3 separate regions of the Homo sapiens genome follow, and regions 1 and 2 are each linked to region 3. The links are contacts of gene promoters, found by promoter capture Hi-C in blood cells and fetal thymus (Javierre and others, 2016). All regions are on one chromosome and are shown on one strand. The core of a region is centred on a gene start or on the middle of the fragment in contact, and the rest is flanking DNA. Distances in the headings are between cores, read along the strand shown.

Region 1 (4,410 bases), core at 979-3,478, 910 kb before region 3:
GTGGGTTCTATTCATGACTCCAGTCCCTTGAGTGGCACTCCCTCAATGCAATGATCAAAGATAAAAAATGCATTGAAAATCTCCAAATAAAATGCAGTCTTTATTTTATTTTTATTTTCTTTGTGTTGTTTTGAAACAGACTCTCCCTTTCTCACCCAGTGCAGTGGTGCGATCTCGGCTCACTGCAACCTCCACCTCCTGGGTTCAAGTGATTCTCCTGCCTCACCCTCCCGAGTAGCTGGAATTACAGGCATGTGCCACCACATCCGGCTAATTTGTTGTATTTTCAGTAGAGATGGGGTTTCGCTATGTTAGGCAGGCTGGTCTCAAACTCCTGACCTCAAATGATCCACTGCCCTCGGCCTCCCAAAGTGCTGGGATTATAGGCGTGAGCCACTGTGCCCAGCCCAGTCTTGATTTCTACTGTGGTTTCATTCCTAAAAAAAAATTCAGTTGATGGTAAAACAACCCTAAAAACATACTGCTTTAGTATACATATATCAAAACAACACGGTGTACTCTGTCAATGTAATTATGATAATTATGATTTGTCAATTAATAGTTATATTAACTTTTAAAAAATATTTTAAAAACTTAAAAAATACTGCTTTATATGTAAAAGTATTGTGTTTATGTGTAAAACATGTACTTCTAGCCTTAGATAATGATAAACAGATTTTTTTACCCACGTGAATGTTTCAGAGGACTCTTACTTGGAAGTCCTGTAGCAGGAGAGATGACTCTTTTTTTTTTTCTTTTTCTGAGATGGAGTCTCACTCCATCACCCAGGCTGGAGTACAGTGGCGAGATCTCAGCTCACTGCAACCTCTGCCTCCTCGGTTCAAGCGACTCTCCCACCTCAGCCTCCCGAGTAGCTGGAATTACGGGCACATGCCACCATGACAGGCTAATTTTTGTATTTTTAGTAGAGACAGGGTTTCATCATGTTGGCCAGGCTGGTCTCAAACTCCTGGACTCAAGTGATCCACCACCTCAGCCACGCAAAGTGCTAGGATTACAAGTGTGAGTCACCTCATCCCGCCTAGGACGACCCTTCTCTGGGCACACTGCAAGATATCTAGCCCCCCTGACTATTCCCCTTCCCTCACTTAAATGCCAGTAGTGCCCTCCAATCCAGTTGTTATGACAAGAGAAAACACCCCAATATACGTCTAGAATGCTCCCTGTGGGTGCTTCCACCCCCATGAAGAACCACTGGTCAGGAGGGAAAGGGCCTCCTTACACCTTCACCTCTCTACTTCCTCTGGTTCTCATGTCACAGGGAGACTCCCCTGTTCTCCCAGCAGACTCTAGAGCACACCTTAGGTTGGGACTCTCTAGTTCAGATTTAAGTGAGCAAATATCCATCACCCAGCATCTCACATGCATAGAGGTGGGTCATCCCGCACAGTATTGGAAGGAGTTTTGAACAGAAATAGGAAGAACGCACATGACAAGCCATGTGACACTTGGACCTGTGTAGAAACACTAACACATGTGTCTGTGGTCTCAGCTACTTGGCAAGCTGAGGTGGGAGGATCACTGGAGCCCAGGATTTGGAGTCTGCAGTGAGCTATGATTGCACACTCTGCTCCAGCCTGGGTGACCAAGCAAAACCTTGTCTTTTTAAAAAAAAAAAAAAAAAAAAAAGAAGGAAGAGAGAAAAAAGAAACACTAACACAGTGTTTTTCAATGGGAAGTAAGATAATTACTTGCATCAAAAGTATTTGTTAAAAATACAGCCTTCCGGCCGGGCGTAGTGGCTCACACCTGTAATCCCAGCACTTTGGGACTCTGAGGCGTGCGGATCATTTGAGGTCAGGAGTTTGAGACCAGCCTGGCCAACATGGCGAAACCCTGTCTCTACTGAAAATACAAAAAATTAGCTGGGCGTGGTGGCGGATACCTGTAATCTCAGCTACTCAGGAGGCTGAGGCAGAAGAGTCGCTTGAGTCCAGGAGGCGGAGGTTGCAGTGAGCCAAGATCGTTCCACTGCACTTTAGCCTGGGCAACAGAACAAGATTCCACCTCAAAATAATAATAATAATAATAATAATAATAATAATAATAATAATACAGCTTTCTGGGCTCATATCTCTTAAATCAGATCCCTGGGGATGTGGCCAGATAATTTGCATTTTTAACAGTCTCACCAGGAGATTTTAATGACCTCAAGGTTTAAGAGCCTCTTAAGTTATTGTCATTGTCACCACCAATGCCATGCACAGCTGCCAATCTGGACATGAAGCCTTTTTCAGGTCCCATGTGGCATTTTGGCAATCACCCTTGCAAAGAGAGCTGGGAGGTCCCCACAGACCCCAGTGTTGGATGCAGACTCCAGCTTCAACCTTGGCGGGTGGTGGGGAGGCGGGGGGATCAGGCATTATTAGGTTGTCTCTTTTTAAGGTTAACTTTCTTGCAGTGCCCAAAAAGCCACTCACTCTGAAAAATTCCCTCTTCTTTCCATTCTTTTCAAAGAGTATGATTTCATGATTTCTCATGACTTCAACCAGGAATGCTTTCATATTTTAAATGTGCCTTTCTGTTAAAATAAGGGGAAAAACTGGAAGATACACATATGCCTGGGTTTGGACAATGTATTAAAGGTATAGAAATTCTGCATATAATTCTGCCTGGGAGTATAGAGTGAAGTATAGTCCTGAGTAAGTCACATTTTTTTTTTTGTCTATGAGTCAAACCAAGTAAAAAAAGAATTCATTTCTCTTTATATAACTGTATAGACACAGAATAGATTTCTAACTCTCTGAGTGAGAGTTTGGAATCTGAGTGAAAAATCTGGTTTGCTCATATTTTAAGAGTTTTGAAGATTATTTCACTGGTGTTAAATAATGATGATGATTCTGAAGATTATTTCACTGGTGTTAAATGATGATGATGACTTGATAACAATACCTTACCCAAGGCCACACAGACAGCAAATGACTTGGGCAGGATTTGAACCCAGATTTACCTGGTGTCAAAGCCTCAGGTCTTGTCACCATACCACACCGTTCTTGGACAAAGAGGTTGTGAACACAGCCACACAAACATTACTCATCACACCACTGCTGCACGCAGCTCCCTAGGACAGTATTTGGGCCTCTGCAGAGGAATGAGACGATGGGGCCCTGGGCCTTGTGCCAGCATTTACAATCCAGGGTTGCAATGCAGGGAATCAGCCACAGTGAAGCAACCCGGAGATCTGCAAGCACAGGAAGGCACCACCACCCTTGATACGAGGCAGTGGAGGACGAAAAGCTACCAGGAGGAGTAGTCCATCCAGTGATGGCTGGAACCTCAGAAATCCACTCCTCACAGAGACCCAGCCACTGCCAGAGAAGCCGCCTGCAGCAGAGAGAGTAAGAAATAACCTGGTTTCTTCCTTCTGGGTCCACTCCCATCTCCTGACGGCACCTCCACTGGCCAAACCCAATCAGCAAACCCAGCGGCCTGGAAACCCACACTTCCACTCACATCAGAGTAGCAGAGGGGCAAGACTGGATCTGAGGGCACGCAGATGAAAACAGGCACGCCCATGCTGGGTTTTGTTATTTCACAGAATAAGCACTCTATGGTTCCCTTAAATAGTAAATCCTCTATTACCTTTAGATTAATTTGATTTAACAGAAAAAGAATTTAAAATCAAGTATTTCCTTTCTTTGCTCCCTCCTTCCCTTCCTCCCTTCCCTTCCCTTCTTTCCCTCCCTCCCTCCCTGCCTCCTTCCCTCCCTTCCTTCCTTCCCATTTTTTTGAGACAGGGTTTCACTCCCATCACCCAGGCTGGAGTGCAGTGGCATGATCATGGCTCACTGCAACCTCCCCTCCTGGGCTTGAGGGAGCCTCCTGCCTCAGCCTCTCAAGTAGCTGGAACTACAGGTGTATGCCACCATGCCCAGCTTATTTTTGTATTTTTGTGTTTTTTTGGTAGAGACAGGATTTTGCCATGTTGCCCAGGCTGATCTCCAACTCCTGAGCTCAAGCTATCTGCCCACCTTGGCCTCCCAAAATGCTGGGATTACAGGCGTGAGCCACCACGCCTGGACCACTTTTTCTTTTTCTTTTCTTTTCTTTTTTTTTTTGAGTGACTTTAAAAAACATCTATTATGCAATCAGATATCTCTTTATACCTGTAACTCACTGAATACTGGAAAACAAAGAAGGCATTATTGGCTGGGCTGGGTGGTGCATGCCTGTAGTCCCAGCTACTTGGGAGGCTGAGGTGGGAAGATGGCTTAAGCCCAGGAAGTTTGACTTCAGTCTGGGCAACATAGCAAGACCCCATCTCTTAAAAAAAAAAAGGAAGAAAAAAGAAAAAAAAAGAGAAAGCATTGATTGAATACTTCCTTACAAAGGGCTAGTAGTCTCATTTGCCAGGCTAATAATAAGTAGTAAGGAGGATGAATTTTATCT
Region 2 (5,081 bases), core at 263-2,762, 550 kb before region 3:
CAGGCAGGTATCAAACTCCTGAACTCAAACAATCCACCTTCTTCGGCCTCCCAAAGTGCTGGGATTATAGGCTGTTTTATACTTTTTAGGTGATTAAGTATCTTTAAATATTTACCGAACAATTTATTTTAATTATTCTAAATTTTCTTCTAATTATTATGAATGTAGATACATGTTTCACAAAATTACAATTATACTCACATAAAATCTATACAGGCGGTGGCTCGCGCCTGTAATCCCAGCACCTTGGGAGCCCAAGGTGGGTGGATCACCTGAGGTCAGGAGTTCGAGACCAGCCTGAACAACATGATGAAACGCTGTCTCTACTAAAAAGACAAAATTAGCCAGGTGTGGTGGCACACGCCTATAATCCCAGCACTTTTGGGAGGCTGAGGTGGGTAGATCTCCTGAGGTCAGGAGTTTGGGACCAGCCTGGCTAACATGGTGAAGCCCTGTCTCTACTAAAAATACAAAAATTAGCCAGTCATGGTGGTGGGTGCCTGTAATCCTACCTACTCAGGAGGCTGACACAGGAGAATCGCTTGAACCTGGGAGGTGGAGGTTGCAGTGAGCTGAGATCATGCCATGGCACTCCAGCCTGGGCAACAAGAGTGAAACTCCCTAAAGAAAAAAAAAAAAAAAAAAGCTATAGCTTTTCATGGAATATCTGCATTTGCACATACCTCTCCTCTGCATGACATTCTTCTTTCATTCACCCAGTTGTTTTCTGCTCTTTCTGGTGCCTTCTTTTTCTTTAAGCAACATTTATTCAAAGAAGTCATCACCATGGAGGCTTTTCCTATATGCTCAGGGCTACAAAATCAGCTTTTCACATCATTTTCCCCTTGGTATCTTCCTCCTCCTCCTCCTTCCTCCTTTTGTCTTCTATTCCTAGAAGTCTGTGGCTTTTCATAGTTTGGGGATTTTGTTGTTGTTGTTTTGACAGAAGAATTAAGGTCACACATGTATTTAATGCCCTGAGCCAAGTAGTGTCTTTTCCCAAAGGCCACAGAGCTTTGCCTAGGTGCCTCTGCACCGTCATCACGCTCTCATTGACCTTCCTTTCTCTTCCTCCAGGTCCAGGGGAAGTAAAAATCCCAAATCAAAAATCCCCTTAAAGCTTTATTAAAATGAGAGCTAGAAAGAAAAAAAAGATTAAAATAAATAAATGAATAAATAAAGTAAGAGCTAACAGCTAATATTTATGACGTGCTCACCATGTGCTGAGCATTCTACATAAATTCTGTCACTCCCACTTCACAGTACCTCCACGAAGTAGGTACAAATGCAAAAATCTCAGCCTCAGTGAGGGTAAGTGACTTGTCTGAGGTGCTCTGAGTACTGAATGATGGAACATTCATGTGTACCTAAACAGTCTGACCATGCAGCCATGCTCCAGCCACAGTGCAACGTGCAACACTGGTCGGGGGAGCTAACAAGGAGTTAACAAGGCAGTGAGTAACACTGCAGCTGTTACAAGAACCACTAGAAATCGTGGATTTGCAGAATATCAACAATATTTTGTCCTTGTCTTGAAGGAAAGGTACTAGGGCTAGGATTACTTTTTTTTTTTTTTTTTTTGAGACAAGGTATCGCTCTATCTCCCAAGCTCACTGGCTCACTGCAGCCTTGAACTCCTGGGCTCAAGCAACCCTCCCGCCTCGGCCTCCCTAAGTGTTGGGATTATGAGCATAAGCCATGGCGCCTGGCCTACGGTTACTTTTAGAATGTCTTCTTTCAGGATTCTCTAGGTTTTACTCTAGGATTTGGCTGGAATAGAATGCTGGTAAAGCTACCTAAGGTTTAGGCCCCCAGGTGATTCCCGGTAGTGAGATTCTTAGCAACTTTCAGAACCCACATCCGTGCTTGCTCCCTTTTTACTACATCAGCCGCTGACTCAGGACCAAGCTTTATTTGGTCTCAGCAGCCACCTGAGAACAGCAGTTGCTCAGAATTCTGCCCTGGTTGCTGGGGTTTCTACCTAAGGCCCTACCCTGTCTGGTCCCAAAGGTTCCTCTTCTTGGATTCAAGCTAACCTTGGCCTGCATTGATTTGGATGTTACCTTTTCCCTATACCAGCTCCACCCTGGAAGTTTCTTTGGCTCAGACTCCTAGAAAACCAGAAGCTGCCCTTGCCTTTGCCTTCTGTCCTTCTCAGTTTGTCCAAAATATTCCTCACCAAGCCATATAGGCTGGCTTGACCTTAAATGAATTTCAGCCCCTCTTCACTATGCTGTTCAGTTGGCACCTGGCCTGTTCTCAGTGGGGCCTGGTGACCGCGATGGCAGGTGCCTCTCTTGGGGAACCCAACCGCCTTTCATGGGATCTTCCAACCCAACTGTTACTTCCTATTTGAAAGCTTTAGACCCAAGTAGGTCCACTACAAACTCTGTTTCCAGCCAGGGGGACTTTTCTAATTCTCAGTTCATTTGCACAACAGAAATGACACCAAACCCAGTGGGTGTTCATGTCCCTCCCAGATCAGGTGACCAGCTCTGCAACCCCACTCTCTTCCCCTGGTTCTTTCTGATGATTCACCTATGAGTTACACACCTTCCCCTGTGCTAGGGCTGTCCTCTAGCCTAGACCCTACCGAGATATTCTGACAGTGTTGAGCCGTGCTTTTCACATTTCAGTCTTTCATTTATAGTGGTCACAATTTTTGTCATAGATAAATAAGTATCATCCGTACTATTAGTTATTTAATGTATTTTTCTTTAAATCACTTAGTTTTTAACTTTAAACCCAATATTCTTCAGTGTTGCCCTAAATAATATTACCTTCAAGATCAGTGGTTGGATATGCTAGTTATATATTTACTTTTTTTTTTATTTTTTGTTTAGTTTTTTATTTTATTTGAATCATCCACCTCAAAATGTCACTAGTTATATATTTTCTTTTCTTTCTTTCTTTCCTTTTTTTTTTTTTTTTTTTGAGACAGAGTCTCACTCTGTTGCCTAGGCTGGAGTGCAAACCTCCGCCTCCTGGGTTCAAGTGATTCTTGTGCCTCAGTCTCCCAAGTAGCTGGGATTACAGGCGTGCACCACCACACATGGATAATTTTTGTATTTTTGGTAGAGACGAGGTTTCACCATGTTGGCCAGGCTGGTCTTGGAACTCCAGACCTCAGGTGATCTGCCCACCTTGGCCTCCCAAAGTGCTGGGATTACAGGTGTGAGCCACCTTACCCGGCCTAGTTATATATTTTCAAACACACATTAACTAAACAAATAATTATAAGCACTGAGTCCATCAATGTCAATATGACACAGCTTTTTTTCCAGGAAACACTCGCCCAGGAAAATAAGACTGTAAGCCAATATGTAACTTGGCAATTTGCTTCAGAAAATTCCTGCAAATCAATGTATTTGGGCAGGCAGTTTGCTTACCTGGGCAAAGAGCTCGTTTATTAGACAAGTTTACTCCTAAGGACCTTTGCCTCACATGCCTTCCAATCCTGAACGATTATGTCAGAAACTGAGCCCAACCCAACCCCAATCTGTTCTCATGGTTTTGCCGCCTTGCCCAGACCGGTCTCAAACTCCTCAACTCAAGCAATCCACCTGCCTCGGCCTCCCAAAGTGCTGGGATTACAGGTGTGAGCCACCACGCATGACCTGACATTTTATTTCTTTTTTAAATTTATTTTATTTTCATCTTTTTTCATTTTTTGTTCTGAAATTTCATATGTTCAACTGTTTACCACCTAAAATCATCTCATCCATTAGGAGTGGTAGGCACAGCAGCCTTTGATGAAACATTTCCCCTAAAAACACAATAAGAAAGTTCCTCTTCCAGCTCTCCACTGTCTCTCCCACGCCTTGCCTTTCTCCTCCAGTCTCTTATGTCCCTCCTCCTCCCACACCTTTACCATCAATGCCTTTTGCACCTGAGGTCTGCCTGCCTTCTATGACTCAGAAGGACATAAACTAAGGGAGAAGGTGATTTCCAGCAGATGAGCAGACAGTATTCCAGTGAGACTCATAAAGTGGTAAGCAACCTCTGTGCTTTGAAAACATTGTTAACTTAAAATGGAATACTAGACCATCATGGAGCTCATCGTGACACTGGCCACTGTGAAGCCAAATTTCAAGTACGGAAAGTCACCCAATACAGTGCAATGTCACTGCAATTTACACGATGTGATATGAGAGTCTGTACCAAGAAGGCTCCTCTGCCCCAAATTTCTTGCCTTTCATCCATTTGCCCCACAACTCACGGGTGTTAAAGGGCATAACATTTTAACTATAACTTAAGGGAAACTAACTTTTTTTGTTTTGTTTTGTTTTGTTTTGAGATGGAGTTTTGTTCTTGTTGCCCAGGCTGGAGTACGGTGGCACTATCTCAGCCCACTGCAACCTCCGCCTCCCGGGTTCAAGCTATTATCCTGATTCAGCCTCCTGAGTAGCTGAGATTACAGGCGTGTGCCACCACACCTGGCTATTTTTTGTATTTTTAGTAGAGACAGGGTTTCACCATGTTAGCTAGGTTGGTCCCAAACTCCTGACCTCAGGAGATCTACCCACCTCAGCCTCCCAAAGTGCTGGGATTACAGGCGTGAGCCACCACACCCGGCCAACTTCAACTTTTTAACTTTAACTTGAGCACCACTTTTCTGGTCCTTCGAAGGCAAAAAAATCTGAGGAGATATGAGTATAGCAACCTTTGGGACCGGCACGGTGACTTGTGCCTATAATCCTAGCGCTTTGTGAGGCCGAGGCGGAGGGATGGCTTGAGGCAGGAGTTCGAGGCTGTAGTGAACTATGATCACACCACAGCACTCTAGCCTGAGGGACAGAGCAAGACCTTCCCTAAAAAAAATAAATAAAATAATTTAAAAATTTTTTAAACTCAACCATTGGTATTTATGGATCACTTATAGTAGGTAGGATGTTTTCAAGGTCTCCACTACAGTGCCTGTGTGCTTTGATTCTTAAAGAACGCTGTGAATGGTAGGTATTATTTTCCAGTTTACAAATGAATTAACCCAGGCTTCAAAAGGTTTGATGATTTGCCTGAGGCCACACAGCTGGTAAGGGGCAGGCCATGGTTGCCTCACCAAGTCCCTGCCCCTAATGTTA
Region 3 (4,687 bases), core at 2,188-4,687:
TACTGTCTCTTCCCTCATAGTCCAGGTTCTGCATTTAGGAAGGTCAACCAAGATTCTAGAGCTTGACCAGAAAACAATTTCTTCCCATCCCAAGGGCCAACTTACACCTAGCTTGGCTGAAGTAGTAGGACTTGTTTACAACTACTCTGGAGGTTGGGCTCCATACTCTGGAGTTTTACCATAGACAGAGAAACTCAGGCTCACGAGATAACAACCGTGTTATAAGGGCAGCCCAAGCTCCGTTCCTCTACCTTTGGGTCCTCTACCTTCTCCAGCTTCTCCAGGATGTGACAGCTGTCTCAGTCCTTTACCAACCATCTTGCTCTCTAAGGAGGCACCATGGCCCAGTGTTCCCCCTCATTCTTTCTCCCTTCACAAGAGATGGGAAGTGGTCCTTCAACTGGCCATATGTCCAAAAGTCCTTTGTTCCTGAATATTCTGGGTAAAGGTATCACCTGTAAAAACTTTAGTAACTGAGAAAAATAAGCAATTACTCTAACAAAGCCTTCAACCAAATTATGAATATGCAAATAACTATTGTGCCTTCAATGTCTGTTTTATCCTAAATTAAAATGCACAGGAAACAGAATCTTTAAAAAGTTAGTTGCAGCCGGGCGCAGTGGCTCACGCCTGTAATCCCAGCACTTTGGGAGGCCAAGGCAGGTGGATCACCTGAGGTCGGGAGTTCGAGACCAGCCTGATCAACATGGAGAAACCCCGTCTCTACTAAAAGTACAAAATTAGCCAGGCGTGGTGGCACACGCCTGTAATCCCAGTTACTTGGGAGGCTGAGGCAGGAGAATCACTTGAACCCGGGAGGCAGAGGTTGCGGTGAGCCGAGATCGCGCCATTTTGCACTCCAGCCTGGGCAACAAGAGTGAAACTCCATCTCAAAAAAAAAAAAAATTTAGTTGCGAGCATTGGCAGCATCTTTAAGTACCTTCATTCTGTAAGGTTCAACATCAGTGTTTCCTTCTCTGCTCTTCTTTTAAGCTTCCCTTGCTCTTTTCTCATAACAGCAAACATAATCATAATCATCGCTGTTTACCAGGAATTGTTCCAAGTGCTTCAGAGGCACTAACTCATGTACAGCCTTGAACAACTCTATGAAGTAGGTAATATTTCTTATGCCTACTTACAAATGACAAAACTGAGGCATAGGGAGGTTAAGTGAGTTGCCCAAGTCTGCCCAAAAAGACACTGCTAAGACAAACAGAGCAGCCTGGCTCCAGTGGTAACTGTAATACTGTACTGTACACCTAGATTCAAAACTGCTTGTAAACCACTAGAGGGCATGGGTTGTGCCCATCTTTCTCAAAGCTCCATCCCCAGTACCTGGCAGAGTGTTGAAACTCATGGTTGAATTTTTCACAGGTATGCCTTCCCCTCTACACTGTGCTTCTTGGGGGCTAAGGAAGAAACTGAGACTGCATTTCATCCTTCAGGAGTGAGAAGTTTTTGCTCCAGTCATAAATACTTGCTGAATAAATGAATCTTCTATTTACGAAGTCGAACATAAATATAAAAAGCCCTCCTCGAGGTAACATAATCAGGGCCATTTCTCCAATCCTAACCTGGCAAGAGATCTGAAATCAACAGATGCCTTAAATAATATCTCAAACTTACTATTAGGCAGATAAGTGGCTTAAGGTAAACATTAAATAAAATGTTAAAGCTGCCCTTCACTACATGAGTACTGCTCCCTTTAAGAGAGCTGTTTTGAGCCACCTCACTAAAAACACAGACTTAGCAAAAGTTTGGATGTGGTTCATTTACTTTAAAGATAAATTACTCGTTTCAGATAATCCATCTAAATAGTAAATCCCCCTTACTTTACTCAAAACAACCAGGAATCTAAAAATTAAGTTTACTCTGAGTAAGGGAACCACATTAGACAATGCTAAGGATTAACTACAGAGTATTTAAAAGAGTAATTTCAAACTGCAGCCATCTCTGAAATTACTTATACAGGTACTAGACAGTCAATCTCAGCATCCGGTAGGCTTTCCACTAAACAGACCACAATCCTACTATGGTTATCATCTCAACTCAGAACAATTTCTTGGTCCCTTATGTATCCCATGATCTTCGCTTATATATTTTGCACACTCTGCATTTTTAAAATGCATCTCAAAACCTATTGATTTTTTGATGGGTCGCTATTTTGGAAGATTAGCAAGAATAGAAACTATTTTAAGTTAACTGCAATTTGTCACTTCTTTCAATACAAACCTGCTTAACTCTTTTGTCTTTTCTATCGTGACCCAAATTATTTTCTGAGGCTTAGAAAAGTACATATAAGACGAAAAATTCCTTTCTAAATATCAATTCCGTCGCCATCAGGAAATGTCAGAAACTTTGTCTTTTTAAAAATAAAAGCGTCAACTCTTTAAAAACTTCAGTACCTCAAAGGAAAGCTGCACTGTTAACACTGAAGGAGGGCTGGGTGATTTCTGAACATCCGCATTAAAGAAATATGCTCTCCAAACCTAGTAATTCCTGCGGAGGCCACACCTTCTAACCTTCTCGTAATCCACTAATCAAATCGGGAGCATCTGAAAACTGCTACCAGCCAAAGTAAAATGACAGGTATGTCATCCTCAAACAATCCAAAACCGGGTCGGGGAGCCCAGACGGCTAGCCGGGGCCCAGGCTGACCCCCGGGCGCTCCTGGAAGAGCGACTCTAAGGAAACACACCTCCCGCGCGAGCCTCTTCCTTCCTAGAGTGACGGGGGAAGGGGACACCAGGGGCAGAAACACACCCAAACCCCACTTCAAATCCTGCCCCACCGCTTCTCCTTCCAAAACAGCCGCGCCACTGCTGAGCCCGCAGGCGATTCGGGGGCGCCGGGAGAAGAGAGCGAAGGGCGGAAAGCGAACTTGGGCGTTACTCCGGGCGTCTCCCTCCCCCAGCGGAACCTGGGCGCGCCGTTTCCTCACGGACGCGAGATTTTCCCCCCCGATCGCCACCCCAGCCCGCCTGGGGCCGCCCTCGCCCACCGTCCCCTCAGCCAGCCAGGGCCCGGCCCAGGCCTCGCCGCCGCCCGCCCTCCCCGGCCGCTCCCCGCGGACTGCCAGGCCACCGCGAGGCCGGGCCACTCACATCCGTCTGCGTCCTCCTGCAGGTCCTCCTGAAGCAGCGAGAGGTCTGCGCCGAGGGGAGAGAAGAAAGGCCCGGTCAGCGCCCCGGGGCCCGGCGCGACGCCCCCCCCCCGCCCGCCTCCCCCCCGCCCCGGGGGCGCCTTCCCGCGCCGGGACCCCACGCCGGCCCCGGCCCGGCAGCCACTCAGGGCTGCGGCGGAGGGCGGGTGGGCTCGAGGAGCCGCCGCCGCCCGGAGAACAGGGGGCCACGTACCCGCCATCTTGTGGTCGCCCCCTCCTCCGCGGCCGCCCGGGGAGCCGGGGCTACATGGAGCGGCGCGAGCCGGGGAGCCGGTGGACGCGCGCGGGAGGGGCGGCGGGGAGGAGGAGGGCCGGGCTGGCGGGGGCGCGCGCGCGGGGCGGGCCGAGGGCCCGGGCCTGCCGCGGGCGGCGCGGCTCCCGGCCGCCCGGGCCCCCGGCCGCGCCCCGCCCCGCCCCGCCTGCCCCTCCGCGCGGCTCCCGGGCGACCGGCGCTCCCGCCTCCCGCCTTTCCCGCTGCTTGCCGGGTCCCGGCCCGGCGACGCGCGCTCACACCCTCCTCCCGAGCCGCCCTCACGCCGAGCGCTGCGGACGGGGGCGCGCAACCTGCCGCCGGCCGGGACCCTGCGGCGAGTGCCGGAACCCGGCCGGGCGGGGCCTCCCGCGGCCCGGCCGCTTTATTGGGTCACCGGCCTCGCCCACCGCCCTGCCAGCCGCAGCCATCTCGGCGGGCGCGCCGCTCGCAGCCAGCGCCCCATCCCCAGGCCTGCACGTACGTCGTCGGCGATCCGGGGCCGGGGGCGGCTCCGAGGTCGTCGGGGCCGGGGTCCCACCTCCTCTTGGAGGAAGCGCCGCCTCCCCACCCGCCCGGGGCCCTCGCCAAGTGGCTGCTAACAAAGCCCAGGGCCCGGCTGCGGGATGGTTGACTGACAAAGTCATGCCTGCCTAGCCAGCTTCCTCGTGCAGCACGGTGAAGGCTGGGGCGCCGGGTTTTTACTCCCACGTCCTGCCAACTCGAGCTGACAAGGCGGGCAATCCACCAGCGGGAGCGTTGGCAGGCCCGGGGTCAGATCCTGATTCAGCCAGTTAATTGGTAGGAGTGGGGCCCATTTGTAGAATGAAGGTGATAACTGCCTCGTGGGGTTATTGGCATTAAATGAAGAATGTAGGGAACCTAGCATGGTTCTTGATGTCTAGGAGGTGCTCGGTGAAGGGTGCCTATGATTCGCTTTGTCTTCTAAATACTTTTGGCAGCACTTGAGGTGTTAAAGTCTGTATCCCAGACTTTATTAGTCTTGTTGTTTTACGTGACTTAAGCGATTAGCTCAAACGCCCAAGTACAAAATGGGGCTAAACCCAGGTTTTCCGACACGATTCTACCTCCATGGCTCTATCTCCAGCTCCACCCAAGGCCTCCAAAATGGTGTTCTCCTAAAGTGACCAACAAAACACCAAGCTGTGTCATGGTGCCACTTTGGCGATGTGGTCTCTTAGGAGAGGGAATTCTAAGTAGTTAATTAGCTTGTTCCTTTCTACGTTGTAGTCTTGACCAAGGACAATGTGTTG

The links. The method cuts DNA at HindIII sites, captures the fragments that hold promoters and counts their contacts. A CHiCAGO score of 5 or more calls a contact.
Region 1: a fragment that was not itself captured here is called in contact with the fragment with the promoter of PPP4R1 in region 3 in 3 of 17 cell types (total CD4 T cells, activated CD4 T cells and total CD8 T cells); the score reaches 6.0 in total CD4 T cells.
Region 2: a fragment that was not itself captured here is called in contact with the fragment with the promoter of PPP4R1 in region 3 in 1 of 17 cell types (non-activated CD4 T cells); the score reaches 6.6 in non-activated CD4 T cells.

The regions. Positions count from the first base shown.
Region 1 is chr18:8,698,628-8,703,037 of GRCh38, forward strand. All of the region lies in intron 1 of GACAT2 (gastric cancer associated transcript 2), which reads right to left. Among named protein-coding and RNA genes, the nearest start is that of MTCL1, 4.7 kb to the right of the region's middle. The HindIII fragment of the contact is 4,632 bases long and covers 1-4,410 here.
Region 2 is chr18:9,064,655-9,069,735 of GRCh38, forward strand. It overlaps LOC124904243 (a long non-coding RNA gene), which reads right to left and starts at 1,137. Exons shown (of 2, transcript XR_007066278.1): 1 at 684-1,137. RefSeq lists an enhancer at 1,998-2,217. The HindIII fragment of the contact is 788 bases long and covers 1,119-1,906 here.
Region 3 is chr18:9,611,122-9,615,808 of GRCh38, forward strand. It overlaps PPP4R1 (protein phosphatase 4 regulatory subunit 1), which reads right to left and starts at 3,438. Exons shown (of 20, transcript NM_001042388.3): 1 at 3,357-3,438; 2 at 3,105-3,149. The coding sequence starts at 3,363. PPP4R1-AS1 (PPP4R1 antisense RNA 1) reads left to right here and starts at 3,686. Exons shown (of 3, transcript NR_110773.1): 1 at 3,686-3,893. RefSeq lists an enhancer at 2,555-2,634 and silencers at 2,905-3,154, 3,255-3,524, 3,625-4,134. The HindIII fragment of the contact is 7,461 bases long and covers 992-4,687 here.